Regions from separate parts of the Homo sapiens genome. Here region 1 is linked to region 2. Evidence: promoter capture Hi-C in human tissues and cell types (Jung and others, 2019). All regions are on one chromosome and are shown on one strand. Each heading gives the region's core, a stretch centred on a gene start or on the middle of the fragment in contact. The rest is flanking DNA. Distances are from core to core; before and after follow the strand shown. Region 1 has its middle 38 kb from the start of SLC6A2. Region 2 holds the start of CAPNS2 (calpain small subunit 2).

What was found. The method cuts DNA at HindIII sites, captures the fragments that hold promoters and counts their contacts. A contact is called where the count stands out against the background at its distance.
Region 1: a contact is called between a fragment that was not itself captured here and the fragment with the promoter of CAPNS2 in region 2, in 1 of the 25 tissues and cell types used here (bladder).

What each region holds. Positions count from the first base shown.
Region 1 is chr16:55,614,776-55,621,613 of GRCh38, reverse strand. No RefSeq gene overlaps it. Among named protein-coding and RNA genes, the nearest start is that of SLC6A2, 38 kb to the left of the region's middle. The HindIII fragment of the contact is 4,342 bases long and covers 1-3,608 here.
Region 2 is chr16:55,562,096-55,568,241 of GRCh38, reverse strand. CAPNS2 (calpain small subunit 2) reads right to left here and starts at 1,558. Exons shown (of 1, transcript NM_032330.3): 1 at 555-1,558. The coding sequence starts at 1,485. The coding sequence ends at 739. All of the region lies in intron 11 of LPCAT2 (lysophosphatidylcholine acyltransferase 2), which reads right to left. The HindIII fragment of the contact is 10,931 bases long and covers 1-3,976 here.

The sequences.
Region 1 (6,838 bases), core at 188-2,687, 53 kb before region 2:
ACACATATGCTTTATCTTTCTACGTGGCAGAAATGCATGCCACAGCCAAAAATGCCTGCAGCTGCCTACGAGGAAGTAACTCTGAGAAACACAGAATCTCACGGATAGAAGAAATACTAAAACTAGATGTTTTCTAGCGTCATCTTCTTAATTAACACAGAAGACTTTCTTGCTTCATTTTTCCACTTTTGGCTATAGAGAGGAGGAGGGGGTCTTTTCCTTCTGTTGTTTTGTGGTTTTTGTTTTTGCCAATAGCAATAAGTGGTCTTTATTTTGAGCCTGATTCATATAAAATATCCATAAAAATCAACAATGACATTTATGAGATTTTGAACATTGGATATTTGATATTAACAAAATGATGGTTACTAGTTTTAGTAACCTTTAAAATACTTTTTTAAAGTATTTTAAAACCCTTAAAATACTTCAAAAAGTATTTAGTAATACATTTTTTTAGAGTCCTTTTTTGGAGATTTTAAAAATTAATTAATTTATTTATTAATTTTATTATACTTTAAGTCCTAGGGTACATGTGTACAACATGCAGGTTTGTTACATATGTAAACATGTGCCATGTTGGTGTGCTGGACCCATTAACTCGTCATTTACATTAGGTATTTCTCTTAATGCTGTCCCTCCCCCCTCCCCCTACCCCACCACAGGCCCCAGTGTGTGATGTTCCCCGCCCTGTGTCCAAGTGTTCTCATTGTTCAATTCCCACCTATGAGTGAGAACATGCAGTGTTTGGTTTTCTGTCCTTGCGATAGTTTGCTCAGAATGATGGTTTCCAGCCTCATCCATGTCCCTACAAAGGACAAGAACTCATCCTTTTTATGGCTGCATAGTATTCCATGGTGTACACATGCCACATTTTCTTAATCCAGTCTGTCACTGATGAAACAGCATCCCTTCCTTACACCTTACACAAAAATTAATTCAAGATGGATTAAAGACTTAAATGTTAGACCTAAAACTATAAAAACCCTAGAAGAAAACCTAGGCAATACCATCCAGGACATAGGCATGGGCATGGACTTCATGACTAAAACACCAAAAGCAATGGCAACAAAAGCCAAAATAGACAAACGGGATCTAATTAAACGAAAGAGCTTCTGCACAGCAAAAGAAACTACCATCAGGGTGAACAGGCAACCTACAGAATGGGAGAAAATTTTTGCAATCTACCCGTCTAACAAAGGGCTAACATCCAGAATCTACAAAGAACTTAAGCAAATTTACAAGAAAAAATCAAACAACCCCATCAAAAAGTGGGCAAAGGATATGAACAGACACTTCTCAAAAGAAGACATTTATGCAGCCAACAGACACGTGAAAAAATAATCATCATCACTGGTCATCAGAGAAATGTGAATCAAAACCATAATGTTTTAGTACCAGTACCATGCTGTATTGGTTACTGTAGCCTTGTAGTATAGTTTGAAGTCAGGTAGTGTGGTGCCTCCAGATTTGTTATTTTTGCTTAGGATTGTCTTGGCAATGCGGGCTCTTTTTTGGTTCCATATGAACTTTAAAGTAGTTTTTTCCAATTCTGTGAAGAAAGTCATTGTTAGCTTGATGGGGATGGTATTGAATCTATAAATTATCTTGGGCAGTATGGCCATTTTCACGATATTGATTCTTCCTATCCATGAGCATGGAATGTTCTTCTATTTGTTTGTGTCCTCTTTTACTTCATTGAGCAGTGGTTTGTAGTTCTCCCTGAAGAGGTCCTTCACATCCCTTGTAAGTTGGATTCCTAGGTATTTTATTCTCTTTGAAGCAATTGTGAATGGGAGTTCACTCATGATTTGGCTCTCTGTTTGTCTGTTGTTGGTGTATAGGAATGCTTGCGATTTTTGCTCATTGATTTTGTATCCTCAGGCTTTGCTGAAGTTGCTTATCAGCTTAAGGAGATTTGGGGTTGAGACAATGGGGTTTTCTAAATATACAATCATGTCATCTGCAAAAAGGGACAATTTGACTTCCTGTTTTCCTAATTGAATACCCTTTATTTCTTTCTCCTGCCTGATTGCCCGGGCCGAACTTCCAACACTGTGTTGAATAGGAGTGGCAAGAGAGGGCATCCCTGTCTTGTGCTAGTTTTCAAAGGGAATGCTTCTAGTGTTTGCCCATTCAGTATGATATTGGCTGTGGGTTTGTCATAAACAGCTCTTATTATTTTGAGATATGTCCCATCAATACCTAATTTATTGAGAATTTTTAGCATTAAAGGCTGTTGAATTTTGTTGAAGCCCGTCTCTGCATCTATTGAGATAATCATGTGGTTTTTGTCTTTGGTTCTGTTTATGTGATGGATTACATTTATTGATTTGCATATGTTCAACCAGCCTTGCATCCCAGGGATGAAGCCAACTTGATTGTGGTGGATAAGCTTTTTGATTGCTTCTGGATTCGATTTGTCGGTATTTTATTGAGGATTTTCGCATCAATGTTCATCAGGGATATTGGTCTAAAATTCTCTTTTTTTGTTGTGTCTCTGCCATGCTTTGGTCTCAGGATGATGCTGGCCTCATAAAATGAGTTAGGGAGGATTCCCTCTTTTTCTATTGATTGGAATAGTTTCAGAAGGAATGGTACCAGCTGCTCTTTGTACCTCTGGTAGAATTCTGCTTTGAATCTGTCTGGTCCTGGACTTTTTTTGGTTGCTAGGCTATCAATTATTGCCTCAATTTCAGCTCCTGTTATTGGTCTATTCAGAGATTCAGCTTCTTCTAGGTTTAGTCTTGGAAGGGTGTATGTGTTGAGGAATTTATCCATTTCTTCTAGATTTTCTGGTTTATTTGCATAGAGGTGTTTATAGTATTCTCTGATGGTAGTTTGTATTTCTGTGGGATCGATGGTGATATCCCCTTTATCATTTTTTATTGCGTCTATTTGATTCTTCTGTTTTCTTCTTTATTAGTCTTGCTAGTGGTCTATCAATTTTGTTGATCTTTTCAAAAAAACCAGCTCCTAGATTCATTGATTTTTTGAAGGTTTTTTTGTGTCTCTAACTCCTTCAGTTCTGCTCTGATCTTAGTTATTTCTTGCCTTCTGCTAGCTTTTGAATGTGTTTGCTCTTGCTTCTCTAGTTCTTTTAATTGTGATGTTAGGGTGTCGATTTTAGATCTTTCCTGCTTTCTCCTGTGGGCATTTAGTGCTATAAATTTCCCTCTACACACTGCTTTAAATGTGTCCCAGAGATTCTGATATATTGTGTCTTTGTTCTCATTGGTTTCAAAGAACATCTTTATTTCTGCCTTCATTTTATTATTTACCCAGTAGTCATTCAGGAGCAGGTTGTTCAGTTTCCATGTAGTTGTGTGGTTTTGAGTGAGTTTCTTAATCCTGAGTTCTAATTTGATCGCACTGTGTTCTGAGAGACAGTTTGTTGTGATTTCTGTTCTTTTACATTTGCTGAGGAGTGTTTTACTTCCAACTATGTGGTCAATTTTGGAATAAGTGCAATGTGATGCTGAGAAGAATGTATATTCTGTTGATTTGGGGTGGAGAGTTCTGTAGATGTCTATTGGGTCCGCTTGGTGCAGAGCTGAGTTCAAGTCCTGGATATCCTTGTTAACTTTCTGTCTCATTGATCTGTCTAATATTGACAGTGGGGTGTTAAAGTCTCCCATTATTATTGTGTGGGAGTCTAAGTCTTGTTGTAGGTCTCTAAGGACTTGCCTTATGAATCTAGGTGCTCCTGTATTGGGTGCATATATATTTAGGATAGTTAGCTCTTCTTGTTGAATTGATCCCTTTACCATTATGTAATGGCCTTCTTTGTCTCTTTTGATCTTTGTTGGTTTAAAGTCTGTTTTATCAGAGACTAGGATTGCAACCCATGCTTCTTTTTTGTTTCCCATTTGCTTGGTAGATATTCCTCCATCCCTTTATTTTGAGCCTATGTGTGTCTCTGCATGTGAGATGGGTCTCCTGAATACAGCACACTGATGGGTGTTGACTCTTTATCCAATTTGCCAGTCTGTGTCTTTTAATTGGAGCATTTAGCCCATTTACATTTAAGGTTAATATTGTTATTTGTGAATTTGATCCTGTCATTATGATATTAGCTGGTTATTTTGCTCATTAGTTCATGCAGTTTCTTCCTAGTATCGATGGTCTTTACAATTTGGCATGTTTTTGCAGTGGCTGATACCGGTCATTCCTTTTCATGTTTAGTGCTTCCTTCAGGAGCTCTTGTAAGGCAGGTCTGGTGGTGACAAAATCTCTCAGCATTTGCTTGTCTGTAAGGCATTTTATTTCTCCTTCATTCATGAGGCTTAGTTTGGCTGGATATGAAATTCTAGGTTGAAAATTATTTTCTTTAAGAATGTTGAATATTGGCCCCCACTCTCTTCTGGCTTATAGAGTTTCTGCCAAGAAATCCGCTGTTAGTCTGATGGGCTTCTCTTTGTGGGTAACCTGACCTTTCTCTCTGGCTGTCCTTAACATTTTTTCCTTCATTTCAACCTTGGTGAATCTGACAATTATGTGTCTTGGGGTTGCTCTTCTCGAGGAATATCTTTGTGGTGTTCTCTGTATTTCCTGAATTTGAATGTTGGCCTGCCTTTCTGGGTTGGGGAAGTTCTCCTGGATAATATCCTGAAGAGTGTTTTTCAACTTAGTTCCATTCACCCTGTCACTTTCAGGTACACCAATCAAATGTAGATTTGGTCTTTTCACATAGTCCCATGTTTCTTGGAGGCTTTGTTCATTTCCTTTCACTCTTTTTCTCTAAACCTCTCTTCTCGCTTCATTTCATTCATTTGATCTTCAATCACTGATACCCTTTCTTCCACTTGATCAAATTGGCTACTGAAGCTTCTGCATGTGTCATGTAGTTCTTGTGCCATGGTTTTCAGCTCCATCAAGTCATTTAAGGTCTTCTCTACACTGTTTATTCTAGTTAGCCATTCATCTAATCTTTTTTCAAGGTTTTTAGCTTCCTTGCAATGGGTTCGAACATCCTCTTTTAGCTCAGAGAAGTTTGTTATTACCGACCTTCTGAAGCCTACTTCTGTCAACTTGTCAAAGCCATTCTCTGTCCAGCTTTGTTCCATTGCTGGCGAGGAGCTATGATCCTTTGGAGGAGAAGGGGCACTCTGGTTTTTAGAATTTTCAGCTTTTTTGCTCTGGTTTCTCCCCATCTTTGTGGTTTTATCTACCTTTGGTCTTTGATGATGGTGACCTACAGATGGGGTTTTGGTGTGGATGTCCTTTTTGTTGATGTTGATGCTATTCCTTTCTATTTGTTAGTTTTCCTTCTAACAGTCAGGACCCTCAGCTGCAGGTCTGTTGGAGTTTGCTGGAGGTCCACTCCAGACCCTGTTTTCCTGGGTATCACCAGCGGAGGCTGCAGAACAGCAAATATTGTTGCCTGATGCTTCCTCTGGAAGCTTCGTCTCAGAGGGGCACCTGGTTGTGTGAGGTGTCATTTGGCCCCTACTGGCAGATGTCTCCCAGTTAGGCTACGTGGGGTTCAGGGACCCACTTAAGGAGGCAGTCTGTCCGTTCTCAGAGCTCAAACTCCATGCTGGGAGAACCACTGCTCCCTTCAGAGCTGTCAGACTGGGACATTTAAGTCTGCAGAAGTTGTTGCTGCCTTTTGTTCAGCTATGCCCTGCCCCCAGAGGTGGAGTCTACAGAGGCAGGCAGGCCTCCTCGAGCTGCAGTGGGATCCACCTAGTTCGAGCTTCCAGCCTGCTTTGTTTACCTAGTCAAGCCTCAGCAATGGCAGACGCCCCTCCCCCAGCCCAGGCTGCCACCTTGCAGATTGATGTCGGACTGCTGCGCTAGCAGTGAGCAAGGTTCCGTGGGCGTGGGACCTGCTGAGCCATGCTCGGGATATAATCTCCTGGTGTTCCGTTTGCTAAGACCATTGGAAAAGTGCAGTATTAAGGCAGGAGTGTCCCGATTTTCCAGGTACCATCTGTCACGACTTCCCTTGGCTAGGAAAGGGAAATCCCCTGACCCCTTGCACTTCCTGGGTGAGGAGATGCCCAGCCCTGCTTTGGCTCAGCCTCTGAGGGCTACATCCACTGTCCAACCAATCCCAGTGAGATGAACCAGGTACCTCAGTTGAAAATGCATAAGTCACCCGTCTTCTGCATCGATCATGCTGGGAGCTGCAGACCAGAGCTATTCCTATTCGGCCATCTTCCTTCTGTTCCTCTTTTTACTCATTTGATAAACTGATAACAGACTAATACTTGATATTCTTTGAACTACATCTTACTGGTGTGTCCAACCACAGGGGCTCCTTGCTAGGTGACATGGGTGTATGTGGGAGACACTGTTCTCTGTCACTTTCACACTGAGCTACTTAGGACTGGGCGCAAAGCCAGTCTGTGGTTCTTTCAACTGCCAAAACAAGCGGATGCAGGCATTGTTTTTATATAAAATGGAAGGAAAATCAAGAACATAATTCAAGTTTTAGGTTCTTACCTTGTCATGGTGGTACAGAAAGAGTTTGGCAGCCCAAACACTAAGGAATTAGGCATATACAGGAGCCAGAGAAAGAGATGTCACACACAAATCTTACAAGGAAAGGGCAGTGGTGGCTCCCCAGTGCCTAATAAACCTTGGTCTGACAACAGGGTAAAAAAATGCAAATGCAGTACAATATCCTGGGGGCATTAATTACTTTAGGGCATCTTGCTGCTGCCCTGTTAGACAGTAATTTGTTAATCCTTAGGATCTCCTGATAAGATAAGGTTTGTATGCTCTTGATGCCTTTAAGTTACACAAAAGCTTCCAAGGCTCCTGGAAATGTTATCAATTGCAATATATTTTGAAACCAAGCATTATATATCAATCACGCTCCTTGAGTTTCAAG
Region 2 (6,146 bases), core at 309-2,808:
ACATTTTTGAACTATGAGCATATTGTTTTATTCCTCAATGTCTTTGACTCTCTTTACAAATGTATCAAAACAAAATTGCTAGTGCTTTTTTTTACTAAAGAAACAGAATTAAAGAACTTTAGAATTTTAGATAGTAGCTCCATCATTTAAAAAAATGCTACCCTTATATAAAACTGCTTAATTTCATTGTCTGAACCTGTTTCTTTATGGTTAAATAAGTTTCCTAAAAAGCACTTTTCATTTTTTTACATAATGGGAAAACCAGGTATAAAATTACAAGAAAAACAGATTTTGAACCTCTCTCCTCAACTTTTTAAAATGGAAAATGTATCTCCTGAGGGCTTTCTTGATTTATTCTAGGATTAAAAAAATTCATTCTTAACAACAATAACAACAATAATAAAGTTCCTACTCCTTGGAATTTATTCACTAAATAAGCAACACCTTTTAAAATCTACTCCATTAGAACTCTACCCCACAACCTCCCCACCATATATATGCAAGTCCATATAAATCCAAATCTCAAAAAGCTGATATACAAACCACTCAGAACATTTTTCGTGAAATATCTGTTTTAATTCAGCAGTAAAAGGCAGCACATGATCAGAAATATGTAGGGTTGTGAAAGAGCTTGCCAGGAAATGAGAGCTGTTGCACAGGGTATCAGCAACTGTGTACAGCTTGGCAAGGTTTTCAGTCCTGTCCTCCAGGGAGGATCTTGACTTCTCAGTTCCCACTTCAGGAATACATGGTCAACTGCAGCCATTCTTTGATAGACACTTGAATCAGGCCATCTCTATCTCTATCCAGAGACTTGAAGGCACGAAACATGGCATCCAGGCGGACCAAGCAGCTGATGAAATTGTTAAAATCCATATCTCCATCTTCATTAGCATACCGGCGGACAATCATTTGGTAAAGTTGTTCATTTAGCTGGAAGCCTGCGGCCTGCAGAGCTCCCCGCAGCTGAGAACTTCCCAGAGACCCAGAATGGTCCCTGTCATACTGCTTATAAACACACTGCCATTTCTTGATGTTGTTCCACAGATACTTAAATTCTTCAAAGCCCAGCTTACCAGTCGTGTCACTGTCCATGACAGACACAATGCTCCGGCAGGTGTCAAGACTAAAACCGTCAGTCTTAAGATCTTTGTGCTTAGAAAGGACTTTGTTGAGAATATTCATCAGATCAGTGGCACCCACCTCCATGTCTGGTCCAGCCAGCTGTGTAAATTGTTGCCGAAATCGCCTAACTTCCTCACTTTCTGAGGCCTCCACACTGGTGAAATGCTGCTGAGTGGGAGGCGGTTCTGGAGTATACTGAGCTGCTGCAGCCTCACTGATAAAATTCACAATTCCTCCAACTATCCCTCCAATATTTCTTCCTCCTCCTTCTCTTCTCTGACCACCTCCTCCAAAGAGGCCTCCAAGAGCTTCTCCAAGACCTCGATCTGCTCCTTCCAATAGAGCCTTTGCAAGAAACATGCTTTCAGTTTAACAAGCAAATGCGGCAGCAATCTTAGAGATGGTATGAAAAAAGATGAAATGGAGTTCAAGTAGTTTACATGTGGAAGAACTGGCTTTTCTTTACCTGCTTACACTGCACCACGCCCCATGATGTGATGTTTCACATCCTACTGAAGATACCTGAGTTCCATGAGGTCCTAGCACCTGCCATATTTTACAAGGCCTCAATAAAATTGTTTTCACTCTTCCAGATACTTATAAATTATAGTATGTAGGACACCTTAGGATAATAGTTTTAAAGAAAAAATATTAAAGTATGCATTTTTATGTCATTGATTTCTTAGTCCTCTGTCTCAGCACCTAAAAAATGATGTGCATTTTCCTAACAGGAAAAAGGTAAATGATGCAAGGAAATCAAAAATTTATTCTCTAAGAAATATTTATTGTTAGAATAGAATTGAAGAAATCTTGGGCATTGGAAGAATATTTAATCCTCTTCCTTTAGCAAAGATTCTCAAAATCCAGTAGTCTTAAGAAAAATTTAGAAGGGAGATTTTTAAAATGCAAGGTCCTGAATTTCCACTCCCAGAGATTCTGATTCCATAGGGCTGCTGTGGTGTCTGTGATCGACATTGCTAAAATCTTTTTTGAAATGTAACATTCATGTAAAAAATGTATCATATAAATCACAAATGGATAGCTCAAAGAATTTCACAGACTGCACACATCTCAGAGGCCTCTTCATACTTCTTTCTAGTTACTTCCGTCTTCCAAGGATAACCACTGTCCTGACATCTAACACCATAGATTTATTTTTGCACCTTAAATAAATTAAATCAGACAGTACAGACTCTTTCATTTATTCCTTTTTCATTATAAAAATGTTAAATGTTTTAAAATTGTGATAAAATACACATGCCATAAAATATACTATTTTAACCATTTTTAAGTATAGAGTTCAGTGGCATTAAGTATATTTGCATTGTGAAACCATCACCACCAGCTATCTTCAGAACTTTTTTCATCTGGCAAAACTGAAACTGTACCCATTAAAGAATAACTCCCATTCTCCCCTTCCCCCACCCCTGGTAACCATCTCTCTATTTTCTAGCTCTATGATTTGACTACTCTGCATGCCTTATATAAGTGGAATCATACAGTATTTGTTCTTTTGTGACTTGCTTATTTCAATGAGCATAATTTCTTCAAGATTCATCCATGTTGTATCATGTGTCAGAATTCCCTTCCTTTCTAATGATGAATAATATTGTATTGCATTAATATACTCATTTTGTTTTTCCATTATCCCATTGGTGAATACTTGGGTTGCCCTTTTGGCTATTGGGAATAATGCTGCTATGAACATGGGTATACAAATATTTGTTTGAGTCTTTGCTTTCAATTCTTTTGGGTATATACCAAGAAGTGGAATTGCTGAATCATATGATAATTCTATTTTTATCTTTTTAAGGAACTACCATACGCTTTTCCTTATTGACTGTACCACTTACATCCCCACCAGCAATACACAAGAGTTCCAATTACTCCATATGCTTGCAAACACTTGTTATTTTCTCTTTTGTTTTGTTTTCTAATAATAGCCATCCTAATGGCTGTAAAGTGGTATAACATTGTAGTTTTGATTTGCATTACCCTAATGATTAATGATGTTGAGCATCTTTTAATGTATTAATACTTACTGACCAAAGAAGATCTTTGGAAAAATGTCTATTTAAATCTTTTGGCCATTTTAAAATCTGGTTATTTGTTGGGTTTCTTGTTGTTGAGTTGCAGGAGTTCTTTAAATATTCTAGATATTAATCCCTTATCAGATATATAATTTGTAAATATTTTCTTTCATTCTGTAGGTTACCTTTCCACTCTGTTGTTAGTGTCCTTTGATGCACAAAAGTTTAAAATTTGTATGTGGTCATATTTATCTATTTTTCTTTGGCTGCCTGTGCTTTTGGCGTAATATTCAAGAAATCATTGAGAAATCCAGTGTCATGAAGCTTTTCCTCTGTTTTCACTGAAGAGTTTTATAGTTTCAGCTCTTATGTTTAGATCTTTGATCCATTTTGAGTTAACTTTTGTATATGTGTAAGTTAAGGGTCCAACTTCATTCTTTTGCATGTGGATATATAATTTTCCCAGCACTATTTGTTGAAAAGACCGTCCTTTCCCCATTGAATGGTTTTGGCATTCTTGCTGAAAATCATATGACCATATACACAAGGGTTTCTTCTGGGATCTCTATTCTATTCCATTGGCTTATATGTCTTTCTTGAAACCAGTGCTGCACTGTTTTGATTACTGTAGGTTTGAAGTAAGGTTTGAAATGAGGAAATGTCAGGCTTTCAACTTTGCTATTCTTTTTCAAGATTGTTTTGGCTATTCAGTGTCCCTTGAAATTCCCTATGAATTTTAGGATTGATTGTTCTATTTTTGTAAAGAAACATTGGGACTTTGAAAAGGATTGCTTTAAATCTGTAGATCACTGTGGGAAGTACTGACTCTTAATATTGTCTTCTAATCCATAAACATGGAATATCTTTCCATTTATTTGTCTCTTCTTCAATTTCTTTCAGCAGTGCTTTGTAGTTTTCAGTGTACAAGTCTTTAGCTTCCTTCTTGAAGTCTATTCCTAAGTATTTTAATTTTTTCTATGCCATTGTAATGGAATTGTTTTCTTAGTTTCCTTTTCAGAATTGTTCATTGTTGGTGTATAAAATGCAACTGATTTTTGTGTGTTGATTCATATCCTGTAACATTGCTAAGTCCCTTAATTAGTTCTGTGTTTTGTATGTGTGAGGGGTAATCTTTAGGGTTTTCTACAAATAAGATCATATCATTTGTTAACAGAGATAATTTTACTTCTTCCTTTCTATTTCATATGCCTCTTATTTCTTTTTCTTGCCTAACTGTTCTCGCGATGATTTCCAATACCATGTTAGTAGAAGCATGAGAGTGGGCATCCTAGTCTTATTCCTGATCTTAGAGGAAAAGCTTTCAGTCTTTTCATCACTGAACACAATGTTAGCTATCAACTTTTCATATATGGTGTTTATTATGTTGGGGCACTTTCCTTCTAGTTTGTTGTGTGATTTTATCAGGGAAGAGTACTGAATTTTGTCAAATGCATTTTCTGCATCTGTTAAGATGATCATGTGATTTTTCCCCTTCATTCTGAGAATATGCTGTGTTACATTAATTGATTTTCATATATTGAACCATCTTGCATTCCAGGAATAAATCCCACTTGATCATGGTGTATAATACTTTTAGTGTGCTGTTGAATTGTGTTTGCTAGTATTTTGTTGATTTTTGCATCCATGTTCATATGGCATATTGGTCTGTAGTTTTCTTCTCTCCAAGTGTTTTTATCTGACTTTGGCCTCATGGAATGAATCAGAAAGTATTCCCTCTTCTTTAATTATTTGGAAGAGTTTGAAAAGAACTGGTGTTAGTACTTCTTTCAATGTTTGGTGGAATTTTCCAGTGAAGCCAACTGGTCCTGGGCTTTTCTTTGTTGGGAGGTTTTTGGTTACTGATTCAATATCTTTGCTAGTTATAGGTCTATTCATATGTTTTACTTCTTCATGATTCAGTCTTGGTAGGTTGTGTAGGAATTTGACAATTTCATCTAGCTTATGCAATCTGTTGGCATACAGTTGTTCGTAGTACTCACTCATCATCCTTTTTATTTCTGTAAAATTGGTAGCAATGTCTTCTCTTTCATTTCTGGTTTTATGTGTCTAGCTTTTTCCCCCCTCAACAGTATATTTTTGAGATTTGATTTTATATTTTTAATAAGCATCTTCAGAAGTCAGTCTGTAACAGGTAGCCTGGATAATACTTTGAGAAATCCTACCTTTAATACTAGTTATAGTCAGAGTACAGGTCCTCCAGAGGTTATTGGAAGTTCTACTGGGGAACTTGGGGAAAAGTAGCTAGGACTTAATGATTAAGTCATTATATTACTTAGCATTTGGGGGTCTCAATTTCGAATCTACAAAATGATAATAATAATATCGCCCTTGCTTACTTCAAATGATTCAATCTGATTTATTATGTATCAGGACTTGGGCTCAGTACTTAGGTTACAAAGGTGAATAAAGCAGGATGGCTGTGCTCAAAAATCAAGTAGAACTACAGGAAACTGGTATAATTATAATATGAAGTCTGTGTTCACATTTCTACTATCAATACTAATCTATTATATTTGTATATATATGTTTTAGTATTTAGGTTTCATTGAATTCCTCTGAAAGATACAAATGTATTTTAGATAAGGTAAGAAAAATTCAGAAAAGTTAAGCTAGTTATCCAAGGTCACGCAGCTAGTACACTGTCCTATGATATCAAACAAGTATAGGCACACAAAAAGGGATCAATGAATTCTACTGAGGCAAAGGAAAGGAGAACATTTACCTATAGAAGAGATCATGTGTAGGCCTGACTACAGGCTGAGTCTCAGAGTTCTCCAAATAGATAAGGGATATAAAAGGACAGTCTAGCAAAAACACAGAAGAGCTAAAGGATATGAGGTATTCAAGAGATGGTGAATAGTACAATGAGATGAGACTCTATTGCTAGGAGTGATGAGAGATAAAGGGAGATCAATAAAATGGAATCAGATTGGAAGGGGGTTTGAACTGCTATGTGGCAGAGTCTCTCTC